5 separate regions of the Homo sapiens genome follow, and regions 1, 2, 3 and 4 are each linked to region 5. The links are contacts of gene promoters, found by promoter capture Hi-C in blood cells and fetal thymus (Javierre and others, 2016). All regions are on one chromosome and are shown on one strand. Each heading gives the region's core, a stretch centred on a gene start or on the middle of the fragment in contact. The rest is flanking DNA. Distances are from core to core; before and after follow the strand shown. Region 1 holds the start of DHX37 (DEAH-box helicase 37). Region 2 overlaps GOLGA3 (golgin A3). Region 3 has its middle 2.1 kb from the start of TRD-GTC2-10. Region 4 holds the start of TRA-TGC3-2 (tRNA-Ala (anticodon TGC) 3-2). Region 5 holds the start of SLC15A4 (solute carrier family 15 member 4).

Evidence for each region. The method cuts DNA at HindIII sites, captures the fragments that hold promoters and counts their contacts. A CHiCAGO score of 5 or more calls a contact.
Region 1: a contact is called between the fragment with the promoter of DHX37 here and the fragment with the promoter of SLC15A4 in region 5, in 1 of 17 cell types (naive CD8 T cells). The highest score is 8.2, in naive CD8 T cells.
Region 2: a fragment that was not itself captured here is called in contact with the fragment with the promoter of SLC15A4 in region 5 in 1 of 17 cell types (neutrophils); the score reaches 5.7 in neutrophils.
Region 3: a contact is called between a fragment that was not itself captured here and the fragment with the promoter of SLC15A4 in region 5, in 1 of 17 cell types (neutrophils). The highest score is 6.6, in neutrophils.
Region 4: a fragment that was not itself captured here is called in contact with the fragment with the promoter of SLC15A4 in region 5 in 1 of 17 cell types (neutrophils); the score reaches 14.9 in neutrophils.

What each region holds. Positions count from the first base shown.
Region 1 is chr12:124,987,848-124,990,632 of GRCh38, forward strand. DHX37 (DEAH-box helicase 37) reads right to left here and starts at 1,284. Exons shown (of 27, transcript NM_032656.4): 1 at 1,070-1,284. The coding sequence starts at 1,175. RefSeq lists a silencer at 988-1,197. The HindIII fragment of the contact is 16,586 bases long and covers 1-2,785 here.
Region 2 is chr12:132,767,357-132,770,056 of GRCh38, forward strand. GOLGA3 (golgin A3) reads right to left here. Exons shown (of 24, transcript NM_001389683.1): 24 at 1,558-2,700. Among named protein-coding and RNA genes, the nearest start is that of ANKLE2, 6.9 kb to the left of the region's middle. RefSeq lists enhancers at 507-556, 667-716, 2,185-2,354 and a cis regulatory region at 2,270. The HindIII fragment of the contact is 243 bases long and covers 1,294-1,536 here.
Region 3 is chr12:124,936,290-124,938,989 of GRCh38, forward strand. No RefSeq gene overlaps it. Among named protein-coding and RNA genes, the nearest start is that of TRD-GTC2-10, 2.1 kb to the right of the region's middle. RefSeq lists enhancers at 1,734-2,700, 2,422-2,691. The HindIII fragment of the contact is 1,587 bases long and covers 640-2,226 here.
Region 4 is chr12:124,919,871-124,922,570 of GRCh38, forward strand. It overlaps TRA-TGC3-2 (tRNA-Ala (anticodon TGC) 3-2), which reads right to left and starts at 1,956; the gene lies at 1,885-1,956. RefSeq lists enhancers at 1,162-1,351, 1,187-1,865, 1,432-1,751 and a cis regulatory region at 1,407-1,577. The HindIII fragment of the contact is 6,001 bases long and covers 1-2,700 here.
Region 5 is chr12:128,822,581-128,825,280 of GRCh38, forward strand. It overlaps SLC15A4 (solute carrier family 15 member 4), which reads right to left and starts at 1,378. Exons shown (of 8, transcript NM_145648.4): 1 at 818-1,378. The coding sequence starts at 1,363. LOC124903083 (a long non-coding RNA gene) reads left to right here and starts at 1,364. Exons shown (of 2, transcript XR_007063602.1): 1 at 1,364-2,700. RefSeq lists an enhancer at 1,129-1,288. The HindIII fragment of the contact is 5,029 bases long and covers 1-2,524 here.

The DNA of each region.
Region 1 (2,785 bases), core at 34-2,533, 3.8 Mb before region 5:
ACACTCAAAAACTTTTGAATTTTGGAGTATTTTGGATTAAGGCTGCTCAACGTGTGCTACTGGTCCCATTCTGCAGATGTGAAAACGAAGGCACAGAGATGTTAGGGGATCTGCCTCAACTCCCAGCCTGTCTGTGGAACTTTTTTTTTTTTTTTTTTTTTTTTGAGATGGAGTCTCGCTCTCTCACCCAGGCTAGAGTACAGTGGTGCGATCTTGGCTCACTGCAACCTCCGTATCCTGGGTTCAAGCCATTCTCCTGCCTCAGCCTCCCAAGTAGCTGGGACTACAGGTGCCCACCACCACGCCTCCTCTGCTCTAAATGCTCCCATGGCTGCCCTCTCCCGTAGAGAAAAAGCCCCAGTCCTCGCCAAGACTGCAGTCCAGGCCCGACCTGCCCTGGCCCCCTGTTTTTTCTCTCATCTCCAGGCAGCCACTCAGGTCTCCTTCAGATCTTGACTCTAACAGAGTGATGTCTTCTCCAGCAACTCTATGGGATGCTGCAACCCACCCAATGGCCTCTTCTGTTTTATCTGCTCACTATAGCCGCATAAATTTCTATATGTTTATTCTTTGCCTGTCTCCTCCTATACAGCAGGTAAACTCAGGGATTTTCTAAAAATCTCCCTTTCTGCTATGTCTCCAGTGCCTAGAATAGTGCCTGGCATGTAATAAGGGCTACTCCTAAAAAGGGGTCTGAGAGAAATGTCAGCCAGCCTGGAGCTGAGCAGACAAGACTGGGCTGAAAATACACATTTGGGGGTCGCTGGAGATTATAAAGAGATTATAATCGAAGTCATGGGAAGGGATGGAACTACTCCTGTTTTTTTTGCCAAATTCTCCATGTTACTATTTGAGGGCGAGAGAAATCCCGGGTATTCCATATACACTGTTAAAACTAGGCTGTCACTAAGCCCCTCTCCTTTGGATCATCTGGAATGGGGGGACCCATTCCCCCATTCCAGATGATCCATCCCACCCCTCTGGGATCCCCACCCGAGAGTCCTGAAGGCAGGGCACAGGCCGCCCTGGGAAATCTCCGAAATCCAGCCCCGGTCCGGGGATGTCTTACCCTCCAGTTCCAGCTGCACGGGGGGCGGCTCGGGGGGGCCCTTCGAGGGTCCGGGGCCCGCCTGCTGGCGCCCCTTGATGTTGTAGCGCCGGCGCAGCTTCCCCATGGCGACTAGGCCAGGGTGGGCGCTCCAGCGGCCGGACCAGCAGAGCAATCCGAAACCCAGCCCACGTGGGTTCCCAGACCACCAACTCCGGCCGTGAGACTTCCGGGTTGTGTTATCGCGAGAACTGTAACTGACTTTGCCGCTGAGGGGCGGGGTTGCAAGAGAAACCCAGCGAAGAGGAGAGGCGGAGCCGGGCCGGGCAGGGGGCGGGACTATTTAGAGAAGTAGGCGGGGCCTGAGGTCCCAGCGGAGGCCGGAGTTTAAGTCCTGGGCTGTTCTCGCTTGGGGTAGTCTGGGTTTAAATATGAATTATATCTACTGATACTAATTTGGCTTCTTGGGAGTGGAAGTGTTTTGCCACCTTTTAAAATATACCCCGCCCCCAGTACTCCAAACTTCTTCCCCCCAACCCTGGTTTGCGCATCTGTATTTTCTGATATTCCTACAAGAAACGTATTAGTCGTGTACTTTTAAAAAGGCACCAAATATTTCCATCACAGGGATAGATGGAAGATCTAAAAGGAGGCCTCTACGGGCGCGGTGGCTCACGCCTGTAATCCCAGCACTTTTGGAGGCCGAGGCGGGCGGATCACGAGGTCAGGATTTCAAGACCAGCCTGGCCAAGATGGTGAAACCCCCGTCTCTACCAAAAATACAAAAAAAATTTAGCTAGGCCTGGTGGCAGGCGTCTGTAATCCCAGCTACTTGGGAGGCTGAGGCAGAGAATTGATTGAACCCGGGAGGTGGACGTTGCAGTGAGCCGAGACTGCACCACTGCACTTCAGCCTGGGCAACAGAGCTAGACTCTGTCTCAAAAAAAAAAAAATAAAGTTGTCTATTACATAACTTTAAATTCCCATTACCGCATCACATTGTAACACACTGGGAAACAATGCATTATTATTATTATTGAGACAAGGTCTGGCTTTGTTGCCCAGGCTGGAGTGTAGTGGAGCAATCTCGGCTCACTGCAACCTCTGCCTCCCGGGTTTAAACGATTCTCCTGCCTCAGCCTTCCGAGTAGCTGGGACTACAGGTGCCCGCCACCACCCCCAGCTAGTTTTTGTATTTTAGTAGAGACGGAGTTTCACCATGTTGGCCAGGCTGGTCTCAAACTCCTGACCTCGTGATCTGCCTGCCTGGGCCTCCCAAAGTGCTGGGATTACAGGCATGAGCCACCGCGCCCGACTTTTTTTTTTTTTTTTTTAAGAGATGAGATCTCGCCCTGTGGGCCAGGCCAGAGTGCAGTGGTGCAATCACCACTCGCTGCAGCCTTGACCTGTCCTCCCACCTCAGCCTCCTGAGTAGTTATGACTACAGGCACACACCACCACGACGGGCTAATTTTTCTATTTTTTTGTAGAGATGGTGTCTCCCTATGTTGCTTAGACTGGTCTCAAAATTCTGGGCTCAAGGGATCCGTTTGTCTCGGCCTCCCAAAGTGCCGGAATTACAGGCATAAGCCACTGTGAAGGCCTTAATGAATGACGTTTAAAAAAATCATAATTAGCGTATCAAATCTATGGGGTTTTTTGTTTGTTTGCTTGTTTTTGTTTTTTTGAGACAGAACTCTCCCTCTGACGCCCAGGCTGGAGTGTAGTGGAGCAGTC
Region 2 (2,700 bases), core at 165-2,664, 3.9 Mb after region 5:
TAATCCCAGCACTTTGGGAGGCCGAGGCGGGCGGATCATGAGGTCAGGAGATCGAGACCATCCGGGCCGACACGGTGAAACCCCGTCTCTACTAAAATACAAAAAGAAATTAGCCGGGCGTGGTGGCGGGAGCCTGTAGTCCCAGCTACTCAGGAGGCTGAGGCAGGAGAATGGCGTGAACCTGGGAGGCGTAGCTTGCAGTGAGCCGAGATCGCGCCGCCGCACACCAGCCTGGGCCACAGAGTGAGACTCCGTCTCCAAAAAAAAAAAAAAAAAAAAATCCTGAGCCTCCCATCAGCGATACGTCCTCTGTCCTACACTCAACCCAAATTCCTGACAGTACCTGCCGCCACTCTAAGCCAGGAAGAAGTGACCCATTCATCTCTGCCAAAACCACTCCTGACACCCACTGCTGAGCTCTGTAGCAGGACGCAGCGTGGAGCTTCGAGCTGCTGAGACAGACACAGCTTAAAATATACCTGTCAGTGCAGTGCCTGCAAACACGTAGCAACTCCATGGAGAAAAGGAAAAAGTTCAGATACATACATGTCCCCTTAAGGGTTCTATAGACCAAAAAAAATTATATCCTTAATATTTCAGAAAGTTAAGGCCACAGAAGGTGGTCAGGGAATTTTTACTCTGTGTAGCAATTCTCTGGGTACAGAAGCTGGTAACGCTCACAGGAAGAAGTGCATTAATCCCACAGGGCCAAGCCCAGCGACCACCACTTCCTGCCCCTTTTCTGTACTTTTTAAACCATGGTGGCCTCTAATAACGTCTAACTGAAAACTCTGTACCTGGTTAACTCTTTTTTTTTTTAGACGGAGTCATGCTCTGTCACCCAGGCTGGAGTGCAGTGGTGTGATCTCGGCTCACTGCAACCTCTGCCCGATCAAGCGATTCTTCTGCCTCAGCCTCCTGACAAGTGGGGATTACAGGCGCCCGCCACCACGCCCTGGCTAATTTTTTGTTTAGTAGAGGTGGAGTTTCACCATGTTGGCCGGGCTGGTCTTGAACCCCTGACCTCAGGTGACCACCCCCTCCCAGCCTCCCAAAGTGCTGGGATTACAGGCGTGAGCCACCACACCCAGCTTACGCCTGGTTAACTCTTAATGACCAAAATCAAAGTATGGATGAAAAAGACGAGAATCTGGGAAGTCACATTGCTGAGGTCTGAGAGTCATGACTCCACTGTCACCGGGGAGGCCCAGCAGAGGGCAGCACCTGGATGATGAGACCCAGTTCAGGAGGCGCAGCACAGAGCGGTCACCATCCTTCCCCGGTTCACCGGGAAGCTTGCTCCCCCTCCTTCTGTATTCCTGGCAAATGACAACGGGCAAAGCGAAGCGTGGGCCAAGGACGGAGGAGGCGGTGCCGCGCGTCTGCCGTGGTCACAAGCCACAGAAGTTTGCTTCACTCCTGCCAGAAACCGGCAGGACAGTAGAATTCTCTTTTAAAGCACGTGTTGAACAGAGTGTGTAATAACATGAGATTAAAAAGTTACTGCCAAACGACAAAATATAACTATTAAAATGAAGCTTCCAATGAATATGAAAATCTTTACCAAAAAATAGTTTATTGCACAAAATTTAAGGAATTCCCAAGCACACTTACATTTGTAAAAAATCAACGTGCTTTTTAAAGTTACACTTTGTCAGACACGGTGACCCCTTTCCCAAGAACAGCCACAACTTGAGGACTCTCTTTTGTGAGGAAATTTTTAATAAAAACAAGTAACTCAAAAGCACTGAATTTTCCAGACCCTCTAACACATTTCCCTCCGGATCCTGTGAGAGCCTGAGATCACTTATGACGAGATTCACCTGGACCTTCCGGTCAGTGAGCTCAGAACACCTCACACCACAGCGTCACTCAACTCAAGTCCCTCCTCACATCAGAGGGCTCCTCGAAGGGAGGCCCCAGGACGGTTCTCTCAGATTTGCTGGTCCCTCCCCTCCTAGAATCTTCACGTACAACATTCTGTTTTTGTTTTTAAAGACCTCAGGGAACTAGAACTCGGTTGTGGGAACCCTGCACCAAGGAGAGTTGAGGGCCAGCTCCTTAGCGCAGCACAGCACGGACTGTGTTCTGGTGGGCAGGGCCCCTGCTGGACCCACCCGAGGAGAGTCCATTTCACATCCTATCAGAAACACTGCCTGATCCATATTGCAGAGAGTGGGAACGGGTGTGAGTCCGTAAGACCCGTAGCATCAATCTCACATATACCACGGAAAAACACATGAAAACCAAGTTACGTTGTTTTTGGAACATCAGAAAAACAAGTAGTGACATCGTGAAGTGCCCTAGCCTGTTGTGACACACGGTGTGGGGATGAACACGCCGCCCTAGCCCGTGACACACGGCGTGGGGATGAACACGCCACATAATGCACTGGTGACCCTGTTTTGTAAGCAGTACTCCCAACTTCACTGCCTTTTCCGTGAGGATATTCCATCATTCCCACTTCTGCCCACAAGAACAAAATAATTCAAACTTTATGCACTGAAGTAACTCTGGAAGGTAGAAGTGCCGGGAGAGTCCCTTGGAGATAAAAAAACCTCAACAATAAAAAAAAGCAATTTAAAAATCCAACTGCAGCCGGGGGCGGTGGTTCACGCCTATAATTCCAGCACTTTGGGAGGCTGAGGCTCAGGATCACCTGAGGTCAAGAGTTCAAGACCAGCCTGGCCAACATGGTGG
Region 3 (2,700 bases), core at 183-2,682, 3.9 Mb before region 5:
GACCGTAGTCTGAGGCTGGACAGGCAGCTGCTTGGCGGATGTCCTTGCAGTAGTCTTTTTTGTGTAAGGTCGCGAAGGCGTTTGTGCAAGGTTGTGGTTTTTCTAGAGTCTTTTATCAGGCCTGCAAGCACGGGAACCCTCTCTTCATGGCCTTCCCTGGTTCTATTTGTCAGGGTTTATTTATTTATTTATTTACTTACTTAACATCCATGACTTCATTTTGATTCTGACAACTTTCACAACATCATGGGTTGAAAGTAGTAACTTGTGTTTTACTTCCATTTATTTAAATACTTCTAAGAGCCAAGCTTTTCTGTAAGTTTTATTAATGAATCATTTTTCCTCTTCTGTAAATTCATTGCCTGTTGATTGTGATCTATTGATATTTTTGAATTTTTCTTAGTGATTTAAAAAATTATTTCTATAATAAAGATATTAGGCTGGGTGAGGTGGCTCACACCTGTAATCGTAACACTTTGGGAGGCTAAGGCGCGGGGATTGCTTGAGCTCAGGAGTTTGAGACCACCCTGGCTCCTCCTAAATGATTGAAAGGACACAACATAATGGATATGCTGTAATTGATAAAGAGACCTTAAAAAAAGTAAAATCAGGAAGATTACCAAATAATTGGTCTGCTCAAGCTTGCAAGTTATTCGCACTTAGGCCCTAAAATATTTACAGAACCAGGTAGGAACTATCTATACTGACTCTAAATATGCTTTCAGAGTATCTCATACATTTGGAAAAATTTAGGCTGAGCGAGAACTATTTAACAGTAAAGGTAAGGAACTTGCTCATGAAACACTAGTTGTTCATGTTCTTAATAATCTTCAATTACCGGAAGAAATAGCCATTGTCCATGTTCCAGGACACCAACCTAATTTTTCTTTTAAAAGTCAAGGAAACGGCCGGGCGCGGTGACTCACGCCTGTAATCCCAGCACTTTGGGAGGCCGAGGCAGGCGCATCACGAGGTCACGAGATCGAGACCATCCTGGCTAACACGGTGAAACCCCGGCTCTACTAAAAATACAAAAAAATTAGCCGGGCGTGGTGGCGGGCGCCTGTAGTCCCAGCTACTAGGGAGGCTGAGCCAGGAGAATGGCGTGAACCTGGGAGGTGGAGCTTGTAGTGAGCTGAGATCGCGCCACTGCACTCCAGACTGGGCGACAGTGCTAGACTCCCTCTCAAAAAGAGGAAAAAAAAAAAGAAAGAAAGAAAGAAAGAAACTTAACAGAATGCAGTGAGGTCAGGCACTTCCAAGAGCTGACCCATCAGTCAGCCCTTATTCATCCCCGAGTGGGTGTATGGTGGTATTTTGGAGAACCTTTACTGGACACTTTGCCAAATAATTGGAGCGGTACTTGTGCTCTAGTTCAGTTAGCTATCCCTTTTACCCTGGCATTTCATCAACCAGAAAAACAAACAAACAAAAAAACATGACATCGTAAAACAAGAGAAGCCTCTCGTAGGTCCTTTGACCCCCATGTTTATTTAGATACAACTGACGTTCCACGAGGTATATCAGATAAATTCAAAGCTAGAAATCAGAGAGCTGTGAGGTTCAAATCCCTTCTCCCACAAATAACAATTAATAAGAATGTAAATTGGATAAACAATATTTATTACTATCAACAACAATTTATTAACTATACTTAAAGATGCTATTAAAGGAATAGCAGAACAGTTAGGATCCACTACTAAAATGGCTTAGGAAAATAAAATGGCTTTAAATGTAGTATTAGCCGAGAAAGGTGGTGTTTGTGTTATAATTAAAACCCAATGTTGTGTACAACCTTCATCCCAAATAACACGACTCCTAACAGAAGTATAACCAGAACCTTACAAGGTCTCACTGCTTTATCTAAAGAGCTTACTAGAAATTCTAGAATTAATAACCCTATTTCAAATTGGCTAGGACGATGGTTTGGTCAACGGAAGGAAACTATAACCTCAATTCTCACTTCTATTACTACCGTAATAGGTACACTTCTCCTTCTCGGATGTTATACCATGCCTCTGGAAGCTAATGACAAAATTAATAACGACAGTTCTTACCAAAACTACTAAAACCTATCTTAACTCTCCTCCACCTTATTCTAAGAGATTTCTCCTCTTAAAAGCTCAAGTAGAACAATTAAGCCAAAACATGCTAAAACAGTTTAAAAAGGAAAAATTATAAAAATTAAAAGGGAAGGAAATGTAGAAAGCAAAAGTTCCTCTTCAAAGCTTCCCCTTTAAATCATAAATGTTATTAATATCTTTTCTCAGAACTAACTTTCTTCAAATTTCTTATTTTATAGTAATAACTCTCTGTTAAGCCTTAGGTAGCAAATGTAACAGAATAAGCACACTCTGACTTCGGTATCTGTGCTAAACATGCTCACAGGCACGTAGTACATTCTATGTCCTTGTACCTTTGTCAAAATATTCGTGCTGGACGTGCCCAGGCATGTCCCAGCTTGCAGCCTACACTCTTCCTTATTTAGGAATATTATTACTTTTCTAAGTCCTTTCGTAAGGAACATCCTTTTTTCCTATGTTCCTCACTGCTTTTACCTATTTAAAAAATTTTTGAACTGTTAGCTAATCGGGTTTTAGTTTAAATTGTGAGGTCTGGCTGCAGCCAATGAAGTCAAAACACAGCAATAGGGACCTCATGCATAAGGAATAAATATTCTTCAGTTGTATCTGACTTTTA
Region 4 (2,700 bases), core at 73-2,572, 3.9 Mb before region 5:
CTCCCTACACACCAAATTATCCTTCAAAACTCCAATCCCTGAGTTTTCAGGGAGACTGATTTGAGTAATAGTAAAACTCCCGTCTCCCACACTGCCAGCTGTGTGTGAATTAAACGTTCTCTATTATGGCAGGGCGAGGTGGCTTGCGCCTGTAATCCCAGCACTTCGGGAGGCTGAGGTGGGCGGATCACAGTTTCCCTGTCCTAATAAATGGGCTCTGTCTAGGCAGCGGGCAAGGAGAAACTGTTGGGCAGTTACAGAAGCATGTAAGTTTTGTGTTAGGCCTGATGACTTCAGAAATTATCTTCAATGATTTTCCCCTAAAACCTTGTTGACATTTAGGGAGAAATAACCTTTCCTGAAGCTCATTAGAAACAAGCTGTCACCAATGCGTCACCACCTAACTGGTGAGTCAGTTCGCAAGTTTCATTTTCTTCATCTCAAAAATGAAAGCTCTAGATCTAGGATTAGACGCTTTTACCATTTAAAACATGAAGTCAAGTCAAATGAAAGAAAGGGGCTGACAGGTGAGGAATTCATTATAATTGCAAAGAACTGTACCACAGAATGCAGCCGAATCCCTTCTTTCATTCTTATTATTATTTAGAGAGCTGGGAACTGGTTAAACTTTAAAAAATATAATTTATTTTTATGTATTTATTTTTGCCTAAAGATCATTCATGCAAGTAAATCAATCTCCCCTCCCCTCCCCTTCCCCTTTCCCTCCCCTTCCCCTTCCTTTCCTTTCCTTTCCTTTCCGAGCCAAGGTCTCCCTTTGTTGCCCAGGCTGCTTTCAAACTCCTGGCCTCAAGCAATTCTCCTGCCTCATGCCTCCCAAAGTGCTGGGATTACAGGCCTGAGCCACCATCTTTTGCTTTCAGTGATAAAACACAGAAACACAGTGGAGGTGAAAGCAACTCCATCTTGGTTGCTAATCCACCAAGATAACTTCCGATTAATGCCTCTTCCAGGAAGGTCTCTAAGATTTCTACTTTACTGTTACCATAAATTCTGCCCTTAGATCAGAACAACCTAGATCATAAATCCTTCCCTTATGCGGATTCACATAACATTCTTGCCTTGCTTGAGGGGTCAACTTCAATTGTCCTACATATATTCCTTCCCTATGGTATGGAAGCCCTGGGCCGGGGGTTATGGCGCAGCAAACCTTATATCCTCTGATGACCACCCTGAGACTATGGCTTCTGTTGGTAAGTCCCTAATAAATGTTTTTTCCTGAGAAACTGGGTTTGTCAACCCCTTTCTTTGGCCTCTCAGCTCCCTTGGCCTTTGGGGTAGGTTTGCATAGGCCTGCTCACCCCGGAACACAGTGTATGAATATAAATGTAAATTGCACTTGCATTACAGCCGTGGAGACGTGTTGCTGAGGAAGCAGAGAGCAAAGCCCCGCTGGGATGTGAGTTTGCTTCTGGGTTCCTCCCATGCAAATGAGGTGGTTCGTGGCAGTGCAGAGGAGGAGTGAGATGGCAAACAGGGGGGCCCAGACCTTCCAGCAACTTACACACTTGCCCTCTGATGGCCAAGAATGCGTCAACAGCCCTCGAGGCCAGTGCAGTACAATCATGGTGGCACGAGATGTGGTGTACACTCCCCAAATGATCATCCTGCTCACTTTTGCTGTGGTTTCAGTCATCAAGTCAGGTTTTGCCTTAACACTTTTCTGCTGATTACTCCCATCAGCCTCTTCTAACTCATGTGCATTTGAAACATTAGAGATTTCAGAATGGGAAGATCACACCTGGTGTGAGAATCTGAGCTCCAAGTAGTGCCTGGAATCACAATGCTTATGATAATCACATCCATGGCACTTTAATGATAAAGAACCACGGACCAAAACGAATACAGAAAGCAACAAAACTACAATGGAGATGCCGGGGATCGAACCCGGGGCCTCATACATGCAAAGCATGCGCTCTACCACTGAGCTACATCCCCCTCCCTTTCCTGTACTTGCTTTTGGAAGTCCTTGCTATACTCTATTCTTAAAGGCGTTTTTCCTGTTTCCACGTGTTTCATTTTTATTTTTGGTTTTTATTATTGTTTGGACGCATAACAATTGTGCACATTTATGAGGTGTGGTGTGATGTTGTGATCTATGTACACAATTTGTAATGTTCAAATCAGGGCAATGACCACATCCATCCCTTCAAACATGTATCATTTCTCTGTGCTGGGAGACATTAAAAATCCACGCTTCCAGCTATTTGAAAACGTACAATAAGTTGTTGTATTCACTCTATAGGGACACTGGAACTTATTCCTCCTATTCAGCTGTACTTTTGTATCCAGTAACCCCCCTTTGGCTATCCCACCTCCCCCCACCTTCACTACCTGCAGTAACCACTATTCTCTCTGTGAGACCAACTATTTCAGCTTCCGCACGTGAGTGAGATCATGCAGTATTTATCTTTCTGTGCCCGGTTTATTTCACTTTATGTAATGTCGCCCAAACTTAGCCATGTTTTTATTTTTGTTTCGTAGAGGAAAAATGACAGGATTTCATTTTGTTTTGTATTTTTTTAAGGTCGAATAGTATTCTATTGCGTATGTACACATTTTCTCTATCCATGTATCTGTTGACGGACACATCTAGGCACTTATGAATAAAGCTGCAATACACACGGGAGTGCGAGAGGCTTTTAGTTTTTGGTTGGTTGGTTTGTTTTGAGACAGAGTTTT
Region 5 (2,700 bases), core at 128-2,627:
GCTCTGTCGCTCAGGCTGGAGGAGTGGAGTGGCGCGATCTCGGCTCATCGCACCTCTGCCTCCCGGGTGCAAGCGATTCTCCTGCCTCAGCCTCCCGACTAGCTGAGAGAACAGGTGCCCGCCACCACGCTCGGCTAATTTTTGTATTTTTAGCCAGGCTGGTCAGGCTGGTCTCGAACTCCTGACCTTAGGTGATCCACCCACCTCGGCCTCCCAAAGTGTTGGGATTACAGGCGTGAGCCACTGCGCTCAGCGTATTTTTTAAATTTTATTTATTTATTTTTTTGAGGTGGGGTCTCACTCTGTTACCCAAGCTAGAGTGCACTGGTGTGACCCTAGCTCACTGCAGCCTCCGAAACTCGTAGGCTCAAGGAATCCTCCTTTCTCTGCTAGGACTACAGGTGTGCGCCTCCACGGAGGGCAAATTTTTAAATTTTGGTAGAGATGAGGTCTCACTGTGTTGCCCAACCTGGTCTCAAAGTCCTGGGCTCAAGAGATCCTCCCGCCTCGGCCTCCCAAAGTGCTGGAATTACAGGCGTGAGCCACCGCGCCCGGCCTCTCTTTTCTTTAAAGCCACTGTGGCCATCACTGTGTGTGTAGACCTCACCCCGCCCCAGGCAAACCCCTTCCAGCACCCATCACACCGGTACCTCCAGTCTTGGCCCACCTGCTGGCGGGATTCCTCGGCACTAGACAGAAGCCCCCCGGGGCAAGGGGCTCCCTCCGCGGTCAGAGGCAGGGACTGGGGCAGGGGAAGAGGCTGGGGCTGGGCAGGGGCTGGACAGGGACAGGGACAGCGCGCGGGGGCGCGGCTCACCTGGTCGGCGCCGAAGGGCGTGATGTTGGCCTTGACGGTGGCCACGCCCAGGCCCACCAGCACCAGCCCCGCGAAGGTGGCCGGTGAGCAGCAGCGGGCGGCGGCGTCGGGACCAGGCGCCGTGCAGTTGAGCAGGCGCGCGGAACCGCAGAGCGCGGCTCGCGTGGCGGGCGCGGCCAGCAGCGGGAAGGCCAGCATGCCCAGCAGGTAGAGCGCCAGGCTCAGCAGGATGGCGCGCGCCCGGCCCAGCCGCGCGTCGGCCAGCCAGCCTCCGAACGGCGAGCCCAGGTAGGTGAGGCCCATGAAGAGCAGCAGCGCCTCGCTGGCCTGCGCGCCCTCCCAGCAGAACGGCGCCCCGTTCAGGAATAGCACCAGGTTGGACGTGATGCCGTAGAAAGCGGCGCGCTCCAGCAGCTCCGTCAGCAGCACGGCCCCGCACGCCGCGCGCCGGCCCGCGAACGCCCCAGCCGCCGCCGCGGCCGCCGCCGCCCGCCGCGCGCCCAGCAGCGGCGCCCGCTCGCCCGCACCGCCCCCAGAGCCCTCCATGCGACGCCGCCAGCTGCCTCGCCCCGCCGCCGGGTCACCTGTCCCAGAACCCAGGGCCGCCGCCCTTCTCGCGAGACTGCCGGGCCTGAGATGTCCCTATTGGGCGGGCTCGCCGCTGCTCAACGCCCCACTCGCCGGAACTTCCGGCCCCGCCCCGGGCACTAGGCGAGGAGGTGGCCGGTATTCTGGATCACTGCGTGTCTTGGGGAGCTTGGGATTCCGCAGCTTGGCGGCCGAGAGCCTTTGTTTGCCTTTTTGAGACAGGGTTTCCCTCTCTCGCCCAGGCTGGAGCGCAGTCATGCGGTTACGCCTCACTGCAGCCTCAGCTTCCCAGGATCAAGCGGCCCTCCCACCTCAGCCTCCCGGGTAGCTGGGACCGCAGGCGCTCGCCGCTGCCTGTGGCTAATTTTTAAACAGTTTTTTGAAATGGGGTCTCGCTTTGTTGCTCAGGTTGGTCTCGAACTCCTGGCATCAAGCGTTCCTCACGTCTCAGCCTCCCATAGTGTTGGAATTACGTGCATGAGCCACTGCAGGCAGTCGGACTAAGGGAGTTTAAACAAAGAAGCCGGAGCCTGGCCCTCTTCGGGCTTCGGTGGGGCCCAGTAGGCAGCCAAAACTCACACTGAGACGGCGGCTGCTCTCCAGGCGGGTTTGCTCAGGCTGCCCCCGTGCTCCCTGCCCTGGGCTTCAGTCCTGGAGAGGACCCGGTTTCTCAACCCGTGCATCGTTGGCACTTTGAGCGACGGGACTGTCCTGTGCGTTGCACGATGTTCAGCAGCAGCTTTGGCCTCTGCTATCCACTAGGGGCCAGTTCCACCCCCTAGCACCTCAGGTTAACAACCGAAAATGTCTTCTAGACTTTGCCGAAGGACTCCTGGGGGCAAATACGCCCCCATTGAGACTCACTGGCTTAGAACAAGGCAAGCTCCAGCCTGTTTCAGGCTTTCCCAGAGACTGCCCCTACACCATCTATGGTTGCATGGCTGGCTTCTCATCCTTCAACCTTCCACCGAAGTGTTGACTTCAGAGAAACATTTTTTTCACTAGCCTGTCCAAGGCCCGAGTATCCCATTCCATCATGTTACTCTTTTCTCCTTATTACCTGTTACATTTTTTAATTTATTCGTTTATCTCCCCAACCTGCATGTGTTAACAGGTGTAAGCTTCCTGATGGCAGGATTCTCTTGTGTTTTGTTCCTCACTGTGCCCCCTGCCTCTGGGACAGCGCCTGGCACATAGTGGAGTGAAAGAGTGCCGCCCAAAAATGGCCCTCAGCATGGCTTCAGAAATTGAGACCCCGGCCTGGGATGGTGGCTCACGTCTACAATCCCAGCACT